3 separate regions of the Homo sapiens genome follow, and all the other regions are linked to region 3. The links are contacts of gene promoters, found by promoter capture Hi-C in human tissues and cell types (Jung and others, 2019). All regions are on one chromosome and are shown on one strand. The core of a region is centred on a gene start or on the middle of the fragment in contact, and the rest is flanking DNA. Distances in the headings are between cores, read along the strand shown.

Region 1 (4,351 bases), core at 1,166-3,665, 77 kb before region 3:
AAAGGGAAGTGGTAGCCTAAGGATGACTATTATAAAATTATGGGAATCAAAGAACTTACCTGAAGGGAACATTTAAGAGACCATCGCTTGACAGGAAGTGAAAAAAGGCCCTGGTGACTCAGCTGAAAATTGCACCCCTGTCTATGAGGTAGAAGCCTTCACTTTCCAGGATCTTGTAGGACATTGGTCAGAATTCTGCCATTTTGGTGGGTTTTCTCCCTCTTTTGATTTTTTACAAGGCAGCAAACAAAGGGGCCCAAAACAAGCACTGATGTTGAGTAACAAGAAACAGACTCGGGTACCTTCCCTCTCCCCTCACTTGGATGAGTGGGGGTGGGATGAAGAGTCTAAGTTATTCTAATGGTAGCCAATTAATTTGGTTTAGAAATGCAAGGGGACATGGAGCAAATATTTTTAATTGTCTAGGCAAGATGCACAAAGAAGCTACCAGCACATAGCAAGCCTGTTTAAAAACCAACCATTACTGAAAGCTTTATGTAAACTGCTTTCAGGCCTCCGCCTCCTCTCCCAACAGGCCCAAGTTCTAATGGCACAGATCCAGACATGACCTCAGAGGGCAGAGGGGCAGAGAGAACTTTCCATCATGGCTGCAGGTCACCACCTCTGAAGGAGGGAATGATGAGTGCAATGCATAAAAAGGCTTCATTACTTTTGTATTCCAGTTTGAATACCTGTTCTCTTTATATTATATAGTATAAGGGAATAATATGGTACTTCTCACCTTACTGGGCAAATTAAATACCTGTCAATAATTTAAGGATTTCCTTGTAATACAAATAATCTTTTTTTTTAAAATATAGAAGTTCTGAGTTAGACCTGTTTAGCTCAGAATAGTGGGCTAAACTACCATAAAATTCTCTGTATATCTTAAATGGTAATGGGTCAAAAACTCCAGAAAATCATCAGTTGATAACACACCTACAGATAAGTGCATGGGTAGGAGGGGATAGCCAAGTGCCCATGATAATTTGACCTCAGTAAATTAAACTGGGCAATACACATATTTGCTATTCTGATACTGCATTAGACTTATAAAATTCCATCTAATAAGCATTCATAAAACTGGACCTCTCTGTATATATCTAGCTTAGACAGGGATAGGGAAAAGAATAACTGAAGAAACTAGCTTACAATAGCTAGGTTTCGTCAGGCTTATTCTATCCAGCCAGAAACCACCACCAGAGAGAAGCTGAGCCATTCAGCTGTCTGTCTCCTCTCCCTCTGTTTGAATAGTCATGCCTAGGCCTTGCTGCAGACCAAAGCCTGTTTGTTAGGAGCAGGAAGAGACTTTGAAAATAAAAGGGGGGTGGGGGAAACCAAAGTTAAAAAAAATTGTGGGGGGGGCAGGGAATGGGGAGAATCACGCTTTGTATTTTTTTCTTTCAAATATTTATCTAACCACATGTATATACAACTTTCTAAACTTGAAGTCTGAATTTGAAATGACGAATCTTTAAACCAAAAGATACATATACCATTGACAGAGACACCTATCTATACAAACCTAGCCCACGGGAGGCTACATCTGTAGCAATAAGGATGGGTGCCTTTCCAGAACGGAACTCTGTAAAAACAAACAATAATCATCATCAAATAAGCATTCCTTGCTATCTGATCTGTTTACATAACCATGTTAAAATTTCAAATAATGGTGCCAGAAAATCCCAAGCTCTTGTAATGACTGACAGTGATTCTTTTGAAAATCTTTATTACACTCATATTCAGCAGCACAATAGTTACCTCTACTAATAATGAAATACCGTTAAGAGAGTGTGGCAATTTGTTACATAATTAATATGAGCTAGATTTTTTTCCCCTTAAAGTTATTTCCCAAATGAGACACAACCAAAAGTTGGGGGTCAGTAGGAAACAAGTTCAAAAGATGTAGAATGAAAAGAACTGAATTTCCCCCCAAAAGGTATGCATATTATTTATTTTTCTTTCTTTTTTTTGAGATGGAGTTTCGCTCTTATTGCCGAGGCTGGAGTGCAGTGGCGCAATCTCAGCTCACCGCAACCTCCACCTCCCGGGTTCAAGCGATTCTCCTGCCTCAGTCTCCCAAATAGCTGGGATTACAGGCATATGCCACCATGCCCGGCTAATTTTGTATTTTTAGTAGAGACGGGGTTTCTCCATGTTGGTCAGGCTGGTCTCGAACTCCCAACCTCAGGTGATCCGCCCACCTCAGCCTCCCAAAGTGCTGGGATTACAGGCGTGAGCCACTGTGTCCGGCCACATTTTATTTCTTAAACAAAATATGGCCTCTTCCATTTCTCAATGGCTTCCCTTAAGAGTAGTCCTGAAAAAAAGGACTGAAAGGAAATATGCTAAAATATGACTCATTAAGAAACATTTTTCTTTAAATATTTCAGTAACAGTTTAATTCTCCCCAAACGGTAGTTATATTTTTATAATCAGAAGGAAAAAATTGAAGACTTTATTAATAAAGGGAGGGTGGTGAAAGTTGTGAAAAAGTTTAAAGAGCCAGCATCGTGGCCCTTAAAGAACCATGAGCACACGCTAAAAGTACCCTCAGTAATTCAATCAACTATACAACAGGGGTAAGACAAACTGGCCTTTGGGCCAAATCTGGCACAACGCCTATTTTTGCAAATAAATATTGTCTGAACATAGCCACGTTTATCTCTTTGAGACAGGGTCCCACCCTGTCACCCAGGCTGGAGTGGCACGATCTTGGCTCACTCCAACCTGTCTCCTAGACTCAAGCAATCCTCCCACCTCAATCTCCGGAGTCGCTGGGGTTACAGGCGTGCACCACCAAGCTTGGCTAAGTTTTGTTTTGTTTTGTTTTTCTTTTAGAGACAGGATTTCACTATGTTGCCCAGACCGGTCTTGAACTCCTGGGCCTAGGTGATCCACGCGCCTCAGCCTCCCAAAGTGTTAGGATTATAGGCATGAGCCACCAACGGTGCCCAGTCCAGGCCACTTCTTTACATATTATCTACAGCCTACAGCTTTTGTCCTAAAACAGCAGTGCTGAGTGGCTATAACAGAGACCACCATTTGGTTTACAAAGCCAAGCATACTTACTATGTGGCCCTTTACAGAAAGTTTGCCTATCCCTGAAATAGAGCATGAACATTCACTTATGGGCAGGGGGTGGGGAATCAACAGAAAATGCTTAGTTTTAAACTTACCATTAAGTACCCAATCTCTTTCTGGTTGACTCTTGTCTCCATGGATACACATAGCTGGCCAACTATCAGAAGAAAAGTGACCAATATTTTAAAAATCTTTTAAAGTGGAGAAAATCGAACTTTAAAGCCAAATGCTATCATGCAATTTTTGTAAGGTTTGTCAGGCTTCATGAATAGATGACTGTGCTCATTAAAAGAGCAAACTGCATGGATAGGCATTATTGAAATATTACACAACATTTGGAATACCAATTTAGAAATTTCCAGTTAACTATAAAACCAGAGGTTAATTGCCTTGGTGCTATACTCACCCATCTCTGCGCATCCTTCGAGTCAGATCATCACAGCGTCTCTTTGTCTCCACAAATATTATTGTTTTGTTTTCCTTTTCAGCCATTATTTCTTCCATTAGTTGGATCAACCTGAAAACATGACCAACAATGCAGTCATCACACAGAAAGTTATTATGTGGACGATTATGTCTGCAATATCAACTCCCAAGGCTACAGTACTTTCTTTGCACATTACGCTTTTAAAATTTTTAATAACTATTAGAGTACTGAGTCAGGTTCTGCTATGTGCTCAAGAAATACTAACTCATACCATCCTCACAGCAAGTCTCATGTAAGTGGTATTACTCCCATTTCACAGATGAAGAAACTGCAGCACCAAGACACAAAATTGTGCAAAATTATACAGCTTGTAATCAGCAGAGCTAAATTTCAAACTCAAGAATTCAGAATCCTTGCATTTAACCATAATGCTCTGACAAATGATATGATGATGGATTATCAGAAACCTAGCAATGCTTTTAATGTTCTCAGGCCTCAAAATATACTGGTTTCTACAGTACTAATTTTGGAGGGTTATTAGAAAAGGTTTATCAGCATTATCAAATCAGAGTAAAATATCTTTCATACTTGTGGTCTTTTTCACTTTCCATGCAGACATCCACTATCTGGAGGATGTTGTGGTTGGCACTCAACTCCAGATTGCCTACGTTGATCTGGGTGTAATCACGAAGGAAATCCTCTGCAAGCTGTCTTACTTCTTTTGGCCAGGTTGCACTCCACATCAGTGTCTGCCTATCAGGCTATCAAAAAAGGAAAGGCTTTCTTTCAGGCTAAGGAACTTGGACAAATGGCATAAAGACTGCTTATTATTAGCTTTAC
Region 2 (4,222 bases), core at 1,020-3,519, 86 kb after region 3:
CGGATGACGAGGTCAGGAGATCCAGACCATCCTGGCTAACACGGTGAAACCCCGTCTCCACTAAAAATACAAAAAACTAGCCGGGTGTGATGGCAGGCGCCTGTTGTCCCAGCTACTCTGGAGGCTGAGGCAGGAGAATTGCTTGAACCCAGGAGGCGGAGCTTGCAGTGAGCCGGATCGCGCCACTGCACTCCAGCCTGGGCAACAAGAGCAAAACTCGGTCTCAAAAAAAAAGAAAAAATGGGGAGCGGAAATAATATGCCATCCAAAATGTACCATCCAAGCAGCGGGAAGTGAGGCTGGAAAGGTAGGAAGTGCCCAGACTGTGCTGGCCATCAAAATAGCACTAGCTACATGTGACAATTAAGTCCTTGGAATTTGGTTAATGTGACTGAATAAGTAAAATTTTAAGGCTGAATGCAGTGGCTCATACCTGTAATCCCAATACTTTGGGAGGTGGGGATGATGTCACTGCACTCCAGCCTGGGTGACAGAATGAGACCCTGTCTCAAAAAAATAAACAAAAGGCTGGGCGCGGTGGCTCACGCCTGTAATCCCAGCACTTTGGGAGGCCGAGGCAGGCGGATCATGAGGTCAGGAGATCGAGACCACCCTGGCTAACATGGTGAAACCCCATCTCTACTAAAAATACCAAAAAAAAAAAAAAAAAAAAAAATTAGCTGGGCTTGGTGGCGGGCGCCTGTAATCCCAGCTATTCGAGAGGCTGAGGCAGGACAATGGCATGAACCCAGGAGGCGGAGCTTGCAGTGAGCTGAGATTGTACCACTGCACACTCCAGCCTAGGCGACAGTGCGAGACTCCATCTAAAATAAATAAATAAATAAATAAATAAATACCAAAAAAAAAATTAGCCTGGCATGGTGGCGGGCGCCTGTAGTCCCAGCTACTTGGGAGGCGGAGGCAGGAGAATGGCGTGAACCCAGGAGTCGGAGGTTGCAGTGAGCCAAGATCATGCCACTGCACTCCAGCCTGGGCGACAGAGCGAGACTCTGTCTCGAAAAAAAAAAAAAGTAAAATTTTTTTAAAGTAAAGCAATAAAAGAATGGCTACTCCATAGATAGAACAGCCAAGAGTAAAATTTTAATTTTAATTAATTCAAATTTTGGCCAGGCGCAGTGGCCCGCACCTGTAATACCAGCACTTTGGGAGGCCGAGTCAAGCAGATCACCTGAGGTCAGGAGTTCGAGACCAGCCTGGCCAACATGGTGAAACGCCATCTCTACTAAAAATACAAAAAATTAGCCGGGCATGGTGGTGGGTGCCTGTAATTCCAGCTACTTGGGAGGTGAACACAGCAGAATCGCTTGAACCCGGGAGGCCGAGATCATGCCACTGCAATCCCAGCCTGGGCAACAGAGTGAGACTCTGTCTTAAAAAAAAAAAAAATTAAATTTTTAAATGGAAGCAGTGCAAATTTAGAAATACTGATTATATCTTGAAATAGTAATGTTTTGGACATATGGAGTTTAAAACATTACTCAAATTAATTTCACTTGGCTTTCTTTTTTACTTTTTAAAAAATGTGGCTACTAGAAAATTCCAAATCACATATGTGGCCTGCTTTATGTTTCTATTGCACAATGCTAAGCCAGATTGTGAAGATTTTAGTTCTAGGACATGGAAGTCTCCCCTCTTTTAATGCAGGGTGGTGTAGTTGGAAGAGAACTGCGCTTGGAGTCAAAGACCCCTGGGTCCTGCCCCTCACTGGATGCCCTGATACACCCACTAGGCAGCCGGTAAACTCCTTGAACGGCCTAAGTTTCTGCACTTATCAGACGGAACCAATAACACACGCTTTTAGGACTCTAGGAGATCTGGAGTTGATTCTCCAGTAGTTCTCTGTCCCTTCCTCACAATGCAACCTTTAAGTAGTCCCTGGGCCTCAGCTTCCCTTGCTTGTAGAAGCCGCCATAACGGCACGGGGAGGGGGCAGGCTGCCAGAGGTGGGTCATGGTGCGTCTGTCCGTCCGTCTTACCTGAAAGCATCGGCGGAATTTGACGAACCCGGGGCCGGTCCCGCCACGGGTCCCTCAGGGGACCCCGCAAAGTTCTGGGTCGGCCCCCGACAGCCGGTGCCCCCAAACTCACAGCAAGGGGTGCCCTTTGCCTTGTGCTGGGGGATGAGGAGGGGAGTTGGGGAGAGGCCCATTTTGCTACTCTGAGTCCAGGCGTTCTCTAGGCAACGCCGGCGCGGTCTCCACTTTCCCGTTTAGCATAACAATGGAACCTTCGTGAGCCGCCGCGTTGTCCGCGAGATGCCGTTTCTATGGTGACAGCCGGGCCGGGGGCCCAGACCAATGTGTCAGTGGAGAGGGTGAATGCAGGTCCTGGTCCTAGAGGCATGAAAAGGACCCCAGAAGACACTGCCTTTGTATAATCCGTTTGCTATCCCGAGGTGATTCACGGAGTTTCTGGGGATTGGCGCAGGCTGGCGCTGGGAACCCCCGCGCCGGTTACCCCTTTCCTCGGTGGTAGAGGCCGGGCGGGGCAGCGCATGCGCGTGGCGGGCAGGCGGCAGGAGGCGGGTGGGTCAAGGTAACTCTGGGCTACAGAGTCCTTGCTGGGGGTTCGGGGAGCGCTTGGACCCCGGCTTCTGGGACGCGTCAGGTACGTCTCCGAGTCCGGCGTCGCCGGCCAGCGCTGCCTGGGTTCACTCGGGGGCCCGAGCTGAGTAGGACGTCCGGGCCTCGCCTGGAGAGAGGCTTCAGGAGGGCCTGGGGAAGGGGACGGAGGCCGGGCGACCCCGGGCGGTGGCCGCCCTCCTCTGTGTGTCTCCGCGGTTGTGAATTGGGGCGGTAATTCCTCCCCGTAGGTCGCCGTGAAGATGATTGCATGAGATCGTGCGTGTGAACGTTTGTTGACAGCTGTTACTTGAGTCCGACAGCCCTGGGGGCCGTGCATCTGCGTAACATGGCTACCTCTGAACTCCTTGGGGGACACGTATATCTTTGAGAATCCGATGAAAACCAGAGATTCCGCCCTTGTTTTCTTAGAATTAAAGTAAGATAATATATTTTATGGCCTGTTGCAAACGGAAAACCTTTACACAATGATTAGTGATTAGTATCAGTATCTGTGGACTGGGAAGGCTCTACTTACTCGATCCTCTTCCCAGGGTCGTTGTGAGGATCAAGTGCACAGCTTCCTATAAACACTAAAACACTATAACATCTTGTGAGCCAGGTACTATTATTATTCCTCAGTGCAAAGAAAGAAGCCGAAGTCCAAGGGGGATAAATGCTGGGGTCCCACTGTGGGTGAGCCGCAGAGTGATCATTGGAAGCCAGGTGCTCCCCCTTCACTTCCTGTGTGCGGAGCACGCTCGCCCTGGGAGTTTCACTAGAAAGAAGGTTGCCATGGGCCAGTGGGACAGCTTGTATCTCAAGTGCACGCGGATGCCCCAGAATCCCAGGATCTCAGCTGAGCTGTTTGTGGATTATTAGATCTGACTTAAAAGGTAGCTAATCCAGACCCTTCCTCATCTGTAATACATGGATGACAGCTCCCAGCTGTAGTGTTATGAGAATTAGTGCGGTCATGAGTAAGGTGCCCAGTTAAAGCCCGAGAAGTAAAGCAGCTGGGCCAAGGTCTAGCAGGCAACTGAAGGGGAGAGCCAGGCCCCTAAACTTGTTGTGTCCAGCCCATGTGCTCAGGCCCAGTGCAGTTAGCATCAGTGGGGACTTGACTTATTTCTCCTTCTTCAAATGTCTCTAGATTTTAGGCATGCTGGGGGCTGCTTCTTAACTGTGTTTTGTTTATTTTGTTCATAAGTAATACATGAATATATTCTCATTGTAATAATTCATTAAATCTCGAGTATATTTAATATAATTTTATATTGTACCATATGAAATTGTCACAATTTGACCTTTTTTTAACCTATAAAATGACAAGTTCATTCAAGTCAGTCATCCTATTCCCTTTTTCAGGTTTAACCACTATGAACAGTTTGGTGTATCCTTCCAGATCTCTTTCTTTCTTTTCTATTTTTTTTTTCTTTGAGATGGGGTCTTGTTCTGTCACCCAGGCTAGAAAGCAGTGGTGCAATTTCAGCTCACTGCAACCTCTGCCTCCTGGGTTCAAGCAATTATCCTGCCTCAGCCTCCTGAGTATCTGGGACAACTGGCGCACACCACCACACCCGACTAATTTTTGTATTTTTAGTAGAAACAGGGTTTCACCATGTTGGCCAGGATAGTCT
Region 3 (4,098 bases), core at 1,018-3,517:
CTTCCCCTCCAGATCCTAAACTCCTTCCTCTAGGACCAGGCTGCTATTCGGTACCCGTGTGTGTAGGTACCAGTATGGCCATACCAGCTGTTAAGTCATTAAAATACTTTCATACCAGTTGCTAAGTAGCTAATCTTAGCATCCTTGCCAAACAAGTTGTTACATATTTGCAATATATAACTATGTGTTATTTCTACTTTCAGCTTCTAAAAATAGTAGCTAACAGGGAAGGAACTTGATTTTTGCGGAATGATCGAATGTCTATATATCTTTCAACATTTTAGTCATACCTCTTCATCTTGGAATCCTGGTTCTTCCGCCACAACTTGATCCTCCTTCATATTGAAAAGTGGGCAACAGAAAAATAATCACTTCTGGGAAAATAAGAAATATTATGTAAGAAGTAGTCCTTTGTCCAGGGGCCTCTGATTTCATTTCAAAGTCAACAAGGACTAGAAGGACAGTAAGAGAAGCATTTAGCTTGGAAAGATGAGGCCAGCCTATCTTCTTTCTGCGAGACATGTGACATTATTTCTTGTGTGTGTGTGTGTGTGTGTGCATGTGTGTGTGTGTCCCCACATGCACACAGATGCCTGAGGGGCAAATTGGGGGGTGCTTATTTAGTTTCTTCTCTTTCCCCAACAGTGATCACTTATCATCTGGTTTCCATTGCACAGCTAATCATGACTTTATTACTGCCTTGAATGTTATTTAGAATTGCATATTGCTTTTAACCTTTCTTGTTTATGTTTAACAACAATACTCTAGGAACCTTGACATTATATCATTCTTCCTTGTGTCCTCCCTGACACCTCCAACTTTGTCCTCAATAAATGGATTCTATTTTTCTCATCTATGATGAATGCCTTCCTGCCTGCTGATTATGAATGGGTACTCCTGTAACATCCACCTTTTTGTTTCATAGAACATTAGCTATACTTTCTTTCACAGTATTTACTAGTTTCATGATTTTTTTAAGATTTAAAAATATGGTGGTCCGGGTGTGGAGGCTCATGCCTGTAATCCCAGCACTTTGGGAGGCCGAGACAGGCAGATCACGAGGTCAGGAGTTCGAGACCAGCCTGGCCAATCCCCGTCTCTACTAAAAATACAAAAAAATTAGCCGGGCGTGGTGGTGGGCGCCCGTAATCCCACCTACTTGGGAGGCTGAGGCAGGAGAATCGCTTGAACCTGGGAGGCGGAGGTTGCACTGAGCCGAGATCATGCCACTGCACTCCAGCCTGGGCGACAGTGCGAGACTCAGTCTCAAAAAAAAAAAAAAAAATTGGTGGATCATAATATTATATTAAGGCTGATAAGCAGTTAAAGTTTTTAACATTGTAGACTCAAAAAGAAATCTCAGGAATCCACAAGGCGTGATTGTGTTTATTTATTACAATAAAATGCGGTCCAAATCATCATTTTTCTTGGTCGATTCCATTTCCTCATTTGATACCAAAGTCAGGGGTTGGACCCTAGAACAAAGGGAACGAACCATTAATACTAAGGCAGGAGCAGGGTCCTACCACCCAGCACCTCAAACGGCAAAGGATGGAAGGCAACCGAGACCGTTCGGATGGGATCTTCGGGGACACTGTCCTTCAGATGGCTAGCTATGAGTACCCCAATTCCACATTTACTGTCCCCATCGAAGAGAAAAACAGCATTCATTTCTTCTCCCCGTGATGAAATGAAAAGATTGTCCCCCATCTCTCAAGGAGCCGTTGATAGACTGAACCGTTGGATTGAAAGTAGGGCTCCCCAATCCCCCGGTTTAAGACGACCCAGCTGTCCCCTCTGGTGGGGGCAGCAGCGCGGTCGGGTCGCCCTCGACGCCTCCCTCAGCAGGAGGCCTGGGCAGACCCCCTGCGGCCGCCGGACATTTTCCTGACACCGGATTCCCTGGTCAGGAGGATGAGGCGGGCTCTCCTAGACTCAGGTCCGATTCGATTGAAAATGAGGTTGGAAATCCCTCAAGATCACTAAAATTCCTCCCCAAAGGTCGGAGCGGAACGCTCAAAGTCACTAGCCCAGGGACCCCAAAAAAGGAGCGAGAAAGGGAAGCGCGCCTTCTCAAAACGAGCGTCCCCTCAGAGTCTTCGCACGCTGTTCGTTTTTGCCACTTACCCCCCTCGTACCCACAGTCTCCCCGAGATTTTCAAGGTGAAGCCCCTCTGCCCCGCCCGACCTCCTCAGCTGACAGGATTCTAACTCGGGCCTAGAACACGGAGCCTGGAGACCCGCGCGCCGTTGACCACAGGGTTTGGCGCCAAACGAGGAGGGCGGGGCGAGGACCAAGGGGCCGGGGCGGGGCGCAGGGTGAGGGTGGAAGGGCGGGGAGGGAGCAGGCCTACAGAGGGCGACGAGGGGCGGGGAGCAATGGGGGCGGGGCGAAGACCGAAGGGCGGGGAACGAGCGGGCTCACAGGTGGGGGGACCAGAGGGCGTGGCCTGGAGGGGGCTCAGGGCGAGGGGGCGGGGCGAGGGCTGAGGCGCGGAAAACGAAGAGGAGCCCCAGCGGGTGGCGAGCTGGGATGACGGAGGGAGGGAGGGAGGGGCGCTGTGGAAGGAGCGCGCTGAGGAGCGGGGCCTTGAAGGGAGACCGTTGAGCTGGGGCGTCCCTCGAGCTGAGCACCTCGCTAAAGTCCGGGAGAAGACCCTGAGGCGGGGTTCTGAGGAGGTAGCCTTGAGTCGGGGGAGGGGCGATGAGCAGAGGTGGCTGACTTTGGCGATAGGTCTTGGTCGCGAGGGTTGCAGATGGAGCCTTGGCTTAGAAGGTCGAATCCGGGCCCGTTTCCCCCCGCCCCCGCTGCCCATGGCTTCTCTTTTCACCTCCAGGTTTTCATGCTGGCTTCAGAGTTTGGCCGTGCTCCCTCAGCGTTCCTAATTTCCCACTTTCTGACTCTCACCATTTGCCACTCTTGTCTGTGATTGAGACACCCGAGGCCCATTCAGGATGGAGAGTAATTTTTTCTCTGTCTTAACTTGAAGTTTTAAATAGACCACAGACGCCAAGTATATTTTGGTTCAGCTTTTAAATAGAAGTCGCAGGCCAGCCTTCGTGCCAGCAGCGCCATCGCTGGCAGCATCCTCCTCCTCCCCTCACGCGGAGACTGACTTGGGGAGAGTCAGGAAACATTTGAGAGAGCAGCTGCCGAGGTGGAGGCTGTGATGTATCTTGGATGAATCTCTGTGCAAACAGTTCTTTGGGTTCAAGACCTAGTACAGGGCGATCCTTTTTGTTTTTTCTGTCTGAATCATTTTGGTGGAATAAATAGCAAAACATTCCCACAATAGCAGTTGGCATTTTGTGTAGGACGCACCCCCCCAACAGGTGGATTGTTTTAAGAGCCAACAAATAACTGCCATTGTGCTTCCAAATCTGTTATTTTCCCCCAAACACAGTCGTCCTTGTTATATGGAGATGAATGCCCATTTGGGGGAGGAACTGGATAGTGGTGAAAGGCTTTCGCTCTGAGGCCTCACCTAAATAATTATGGGAACTTTTGAGCAACTCGTTAGGTGAAGACATCAACAGTCTACAGAAGAGCTGCAAAGAGCACAGCAAGATGATTTAGGGAAATATAACATATGTAGTTTGGTGTAGTGACAGCTGGGAGAGAGAAATGTTCATAATATTTGAAGGTTGTGTGCAGTACACTTAAAAAAACTAAAATGAGCTGGGTAATGACAAATTCATGAAGGGAGGAGAAAAATCTTATCTGGGTATCATATCGATGGTTAGAGACAACTTTTAAGATATTTAAAACAACAACAAACTCTAGGACAGTTAAAAAGTGCACATGAAGACTTTCCACTAAAATCGGAACCAAAAAAATTGTCTTTCGTATCATACAAAAACTCTGAATATCATGAAGGTGGCATTTCACATCAGTGGAGAAATGATGAATTCAGTGAATAGTGTTAGAACAACTAGGTAACCATCTGGAAGAAAAATAAAATTGGAACCACACTTTACACATTATACCAAAATAAATTCCAGACAGATCAAAAAATTAAATCTGAACAATAAAATAATAAAAGTACTAGAAGAAAATATGGGATATTTAAAATTACTTTGTAATAAGAAACATCTTTT

The links. The method cuts DNA at HindIII sites, captures the fragments that hold promoters and counts their contacts. A contact is called where the count stands out against the background at its distance.
Region 1: a fragment that was not itself captured here is called in contact with the fragment with the promoter of DMC1 in region 3 in 2 of the 25 tissues and cell types used here (dorsolateral prefrontal cortex and mesenchymal stem cells).
Region 2: the fragment with the promoter of FAM227A here is called in contact with the fragment with the promoter of DMC1 in region 3 in 1 of the 25 tissues and cell types used here (IMR-90 fibroblasts).

What each region holds. Positions count from the first base shown.
Region 1 is chr22:38,490,531-38,494,881 of GRCh38, forward strand. It overlaps DDX17 (DEAD-box helicase 17), which reads right to left. Exons shown (of 13, transcript NM_006386.5): 8 at 4,100-4,272; 9 at 3,491-3,601; 10 at 3,180-3,241; 11 at 1,526-1,585. Among named protein-coding and RNA genes, the nearest start is that of DDX17, 14 kb to the right of the region's middle. The HindIII fragment of the contact is 4,436 bases long and covers 198-4,351 here.
Region 2 is chr22:38,654,123-38,658,344 of GRCh38, forward strand. FAM227A (family with sequence similarity 227 member A) reads right to left here and starts at 2,270. Exons shown (of 17, transcript NM_001013647.2): 1 at 1,998-2,270. It overlaps CBY1 (chibby 1, beta catenin antagonist), which reads left to right and starts at 2,516. Exons shown (of 5, transcript NM_015373.4): 1 at 2,516-2,628. The HindIII fragment of the contact is 5,432 bases long and covers 1-3,203 here.
Region 3 is chr22:38,567,916-38,572,013 of GRCh38, forward strand. DMC1 (DNA meiotic recombinase 1) reads right to left here and starts at 2,268. Exons shown (of 14, transcript NM_007068.4): 1 at 2,128-2,268; 2 at 291-374. The coding sequence starts at 341. LOC105373031 (a long non-coding RNA gene) reads left to right here and starts at 2,585. Exons shown (of 2, transcript NR_134627.1): 1 at 2,585-2,679; 2 at 2,838-3,443. RefSeq lists a silencer at 2,264-2,553 and enhancers at 2,857-3,367, 2,954-3,003. The HindIII fragment of the contact is 22,042 bases long and covers 1-4,098 here.